Regions from separate parts of the Homo sapiens genome. Here region 1 is linked to region 2. Evidence: promoter capture Hi-C in human tissues and cell types (Jung and others, 2019). All regions are on one chromosome and are shown on one strand. Each heading gives the region's core, a stretch centred on a gene start or on the middle of the fragment in contact. The rest is flanking DNA. Distances are from core to core; before and after follow the strand shown.

The links. The method cuts DNA at HindIII sites, captures the fragments that hold promoters and counts their contacts. A contact is called where the count stands out against the background at its distance.
Region 1: a fragment that was not itself captured here is called in contact with the fragment with the promoter of KBTBD11 in region 2 in 1 of the 25 tissues and cell types used here (spleen).

The regions. Positions count from the first base shown.
Region 1 is chr8:1,740,026-1,742,725 of GRCh38, reverse strand. No RefSeq gene overlaps it. Among named protein-coding and RNA genes, the nearest start is that of CLN8, 22 kb to the left of the region's middle. The HindIII fragment of the contact is 5,059 bases long and covers 1-2,700 here.
Region 2 is chr8:1,972,210-1,974,972 of GRCh38, reverse strand. KBTBD11 (kelch repeat and BTB domain containing 11) reads right to left here and starts at 1,296. Exons shown (of 2, transcript NM_014867.3): 1 at 1,038-1,296. It overlaps KBTBD11-AS1 (KBTBD11 antisense RNA 1), which reads left to right and starts at 1,628. Exons shown (of 3, transcript NR_136275.1): 1 at 1,628-1,825; 2 at 2,310-2,433; 3 at 2,616-2,763. The region is part of intron 2 of KBTBD11-OT1 (KBTBD11 overlapping transcript 1); the gene reads right to left. The HindIII fragment of the contact is 1,977 bases long and covers 1,042-2,763 here.

The sequences.
Region 1 (2,700 bases), core at 194-2,693, 230 kb after region 2:
TGCAACACCCACACCAACACCAGACCACAGCCTTGACCCCTGAGTTTAGAGCATGCAAGAAATTCCTACAAATCAATTAGAAAAAACAAGCGATTTAAATAGAGAAATGGGCAAAAGACCTGAACAAGCACTGTACCAAAGAAAAGATCAAAATGGCTACTCAACGGATGCTCCCCTGTGTTATTCATCAGTGGCTGCTGCTTACAACCACAGTGAGATATCACTACATAGCCGCCAGGACAGCAAAGTCAGGAAAGAGGAGCAGGAATCAGTGTGGATACAGAGAAACTGAACTCAGACACTGTTGGTGGGAACTGAACTCACACACTGCTGAGGAGAACTGAACTCACTCACACACCATGGGGGGACTGAACTCACTCACACAGCACTGAGGGGACTGAACTCACACACCACGGCGGGGCCTGAACTCACTCACACACTACTGTGTGGAAACTGAACTCACTTGCGCACCCCTGGGGGGAAGTAACATTTTTGCATTGACCCTGGACCAATAACCACTGAAACTGAACTGAAGCTTCCATGGCGACACTGTGATTCCCCACGACCAGCAGAAATGCAAACATATTGCACACAAGGTCATGCACAAGAATGTTGACAGGATCACTGTTTGTGTGTTTATCTGAACCTTCACCTGCTCATGACAGATAAAGGTTATCATGTGAACGTGGGGAAGACATCGCCAAACACCCAGGGGAGGTTTCCCTGGGAGCAGACACCTCCTCCCCTCGCCGTCCTCTTTTACCTCCCGTTGCCGTCCTCTTTGAAATGCCCTGCAGCACGGTCAAGGGACTCTGCTGCTCTGCCAGTCCACTGTGTAGGTCTTCCTGCTTCTCCACTTTATTTCCACCAAATTATAAACTCTTGGAAACAAAGATTCTGCCATCACGCATTTCTTTATCACTCACAGCATCTGGATGTCCTCCACAACAGCAAGTGGCACCTGTCATATTTTGTTTTGTGTTTTTTGTTGTTGTTGTTTTGTTTTTTTTTGAGACGGAGTCTCGCTTTCTTGCCCAGGCTGGAGTGCAGTGGTGTGATCTCTGCTCATTGCAAGCTCCGCCTCTCGGGTTCAAGCGATTCTCCTGCCTCAGCCTCCCTAGTAGCTGGGACTACAGCTGCGTGCCACCACGCCTGGCTAATTTTTTGAATTTTTAGTAGAGACGGGGTTTCACAGTGTTAGACAGGATGGTCTTGATCTCCTGACCTCGTGATCCACCCGCCTCGGCCTCCCGAAAGTGCTGGGATTACAGGCATGAGCCAACGCGCCTGGCCACCTGTCACGTTTTACAGCTAAGGAAGCTGAGGTCACATGTCCAAGGAGTCAAGCATGGGACGTCTCTGTCCTTACCCAACGTGGGTCTCACCACCACTCCTTATTGACTCCACTCTGATCAGACTGTGCCTCTGATAACTCCCAGGACAGGCTCAGCCTTTTCAAGCTTCTGGGCCTTCACATTTGCTTTTGCCTCTCTACCTGGGTCTTTATTTCTTCTATTGTCCAAGGACCAAGTCCTCCTCATCCTTCAGGTCTCAACTCTGGCTGGGCTCCGAGGAGGAGCTACCACCTGGGACGCCACTACCTGTCGGGCCTGCCTCCCTCTCTTACTCGCTCATGTCCTTGCATTTCACTCATTGAATGATCTTAAACATTCATGATAGAATGATCTATCATGTCATAAAAATGACATGATAATTATTTTTATCTCTTTGTGGACTGTTTATTTTCTGTCCTGCCCTTCCCACCTCACAAGAATGGGAAGCCCCATGGTGGGCTGGGACATCATCTGTCTTATTCACACGTGATGTTAAAAGAGATTGTTTTCTTCCTAACGGTGATGAAGTTACACTGCACAGAGGATCTTCAGGGCAGTGAAGCTACTCTGCATGGCACTGTCATGGTGGATAAGAGTCAGTGTACATCTGTGCAGACCCAGAGGATGAACAACACCTAGAGCGAGCCCTCGTGTAAACCACGGACTCCAGGCAATGAAGACGTGTCCATGTGGGTTCACCAATGGTAACAAATGCACCACACTTGCTGGTGGGGGGTGGCTATGCGTGCAGGGGAGAGGGGACAGGCAGCGAATGGCAGGTGTCTGTACCTTCTGTGCATTTTACTGTGAGCCAAAAACTGCTCTAAAAAAATTGTCTACTTTTAAGTTCTGATGGGTTCTCTGGCTTCAGGGAGTTGCCATTTTGGATCCTGAAGAATAAAGAGATAGGCTCATTTGCATGAGGTAGGCAGAGTCAAGTTGGAGGTTGAACTACGTGCTGGGACTGAGGCCATCAGACTCTGGAGGGAGGAGGGGAGCATAGCTGCTGTCTTGCTGACAGCTTCATGGGGAAGCTGGGGTCTGAGTTAGGATGAGTGTCTTAGTCCATTTGTTTTGCTATCAAGGACTACCTGAAGCTGAGTAATTTATAAAGAAAAGAGGTGTGTTTGGCTCACCTCTCTGCAGCCTTCACAGGGAGCATGGTGCCAGCATCTGCGACTGGTGAGGCCTCCGAAATATTAGAAATTGGCCGGGCGCAGTGGCTCATGCCTGTAATCCTAGCACTTTGGGAGGTTGAGGGGGGCGGATCACCTGAGGTCAGGAGATCGAGACCAGCCTTCCCAACATTGGTGAAACCCCGCCTCTATTAAAAATACAAAAATTAGCTGGGCGTAATGGCAGGCAC
Region 2 (2,763 bases), core at 47-2,546:
GCGGGAACCGCGGGGAATCGGGCGAACTTCTCACTCAGGGCCTGAGGGGATGGCTGGAACTTTAAAATCTGACGGCGGCGCCTTTCGTGGGCTGAGTAGAATAAAGCTCGCTGCACTGATTTGTTCCTTTTCTTTTCCTTAGAATAGACACTGGAGTGGGTGGAGGGGGAAACGTGGTTTTGTAGGACTCTAAAGAGGTGGAGGGACTTTGGTTCACCCTCTTTTCATGCTCCAGAATGAGCCCCGCCTGAGAGGAGGGACCCCTGCGGAATCCCGCCCAGACCGCCCGGGGGTCTCCCCAGCACATGGGGCGGGGGCTGCAAGGGGCGCCCGGCAGGACTCGGGAGCCGCGGCGCGGTGGGGCGGGTGGGTCGCGGTGCTCGGGGCTCGCGGGGGTCAGCAGCCAGGACACCCCCGCACCCCGGGCGCAGCGGCGGAGGACCAAGGGCCGCGCTCCCCTCCCCAGGGCCCCGAGTCCAGGAGAGACCCCCGTTCGCTCCGGACAGCCGATCCCCGCGACCGCCGAGAGCCAAGCGGAGCAACCCCGGGAGGAGCCCCCGCCCTGGCCCCGCGCGCTTGGCTTCGGCTTCTGCTCCTGCTTCCGTGCCGGCTGGGGCGGCGGGACCCTCGGCGGGGGCGGTGACTGCGGGCGCGGCGCGGGCGGCTCATTGTCTTCCGGCCGGGGTTGCCGCGTCCCGGGGGAGGGCCTGTGGAGACCCCGCGAGGAGGCCCCCACGCCCCCCACGCGGCCTCCCGGAGGCGGAGCGGAGACCACCCACCGCCGCCCACCCCGCCGCGGGCAGCGCTGCCCCCTCCTCTCCCGGTCCCCCCTCCCCTCCCCTCCGCTCCGCTCCCCTCCCTCCCCTGCCGGCCTCCCCTCCCCGCCTCTCCCCTGCCGGCCTCCCCTTTTCTCCCCTCCCGCCTACTGCCGCTCTCGCCGACCACCTCCCACCCGCCGCCCCCTCCGACCCGCGCCTCGGGCTGCTTCCCGCTCCGCCCGCCAGGCCCCGCCGCTGCCTCCCCGGGGTCCGCCCTACCTCGCCGCGGCTCCTCTTCAGCCGCCGGGCCCGGGACGCGCAGCCAGGCGGGTGGGCTCCGGCGCATGCGCGCGGCCGCTTCCCGGCACCTGTGGGAGCCGCGGCCCGGCCTCTCCGAGCACCTGCGAGCGGGAGCTGCTCCTCCGACCCGCAGCGGGGCGTGGGCGGCAGAGGGGGCGGTGGACAGGCCTCTCCGCCTCTCCAGGCCGCGCGGAGCCAGCGCTCCGGCTCCAGGCTGCGAGGGGCGCGCGCGGGGCGCGGGGAGGGGGGCGGGCGCGTGCACACGGGGCGTTTTCGGGCGCGCGCCCCCTGGCTGGGTCTGCGGAGGGGCTGTGGGTTCCCCGGGGCTTCCCTGCCCCGCGCCTGCCCGCCGGGCGCTTCTCCCCCTCCAGGACCGCGGCCCACGTCGCCACTCGAGCCCGAGCCCGAGCCCGCGCCCACGCGCGGGGGCCGCTTCCTGCGAGGAGGCGGGGACAGGTGTCCGCGGGCGCAAACAGCGGAGTTTCGTGCGCCTATTTTTTGGTAAAAGTAGAGGCGATGCGTTGTTGACATATTTAGTGGTTAAAAACTTATTGCCAAATTCTCAACAGATTCCAGAATTTTTTAAAGTTCACAACACGAGAGTGGACGAAATGTCGGAGCTTTTGCTCATATCCAGAAATGTGGCCTCTGCCTCCCACTCGGGCCCTGCGGTGCAGACGGGTTCAGGGCGGCGAGGACTGAGCCAGGAGCGCCGAGAGTTCCAGCTGCTCCCAGGCTGGGTTCTAATTAACGCTGGACCCCTGCTGGTAAATGCTATTTTTAATGGCTTTGTGCAAATTAATGACGATGAGATTTCCATAAGTACCGAGAGCCAGAGCCTTTACTTTCTCTTTTTGTGTTCTTTTTGCTTGTGACAGTCTTTGCCAGTTCCATGCTGTATACACATAATGAGCCGTTACAACTCCAGCACCAAAGCTAACGCCCCGGGAACATCTTTAAAACCTTTTTCACTCTGTTGCCAAGAAGAGTAGTACCTGCTGTCAGTACTTGAATTACAGGAGGCTGAAACTCAGCGAGCTACTGGGATTTTTTGAAAATTGAAAACTTCCGTTAACTATAGCAGAAACAGACCCTTTTGGTGGAAGCTAAAATAATTCCCATGCTGCTCCGTTTTTATTTTGTTCAGTTTACTCCAAAAATGTTCCAAACTCTACTGTGATCTTCTTAGTGCATCTCTACTTCCTTTCGGCTGCAGAATAATACTTCTTTTTCTCTTTTGTTTTTTTTTAGAGATGGAGTCTCACTCTGTCGCCCAGGCTGGAATGCAGTGGTGCAATCTCGGCTCACTGCGATCTCTGCGTCCTGGGTTCAAGCAATTCTCCTGCCTCAGCCTCCCAAGTAGCTGTGACTACAGGCATGCACCACCACACCCAGCTAAATTTTGTATTTTTAGTAGAGACAGGGTTTCACTGTACATTGGCCAGGCTGGTCTCGATCTCCTGACCTCAAGTGATCCACCTGTCTTGGCCTCCCAAAGTGCTGGGATTACAGGCATGAGCCACCGCGCCTGGCCTAACTACCCCCATTCTTTTCCAGAGAAACGTGAACAGGCCAAACAAAGCCTCACCTGGCTATCCCGCCACCCTGGGGTTGGGCCTCCAAAGGCCCGGGAGGTCACCTAAGACACGGTGTTCTGAACATGCAAGCCCGACAGCATCTTCTCTACCATTCTGCCAGAGTCCAG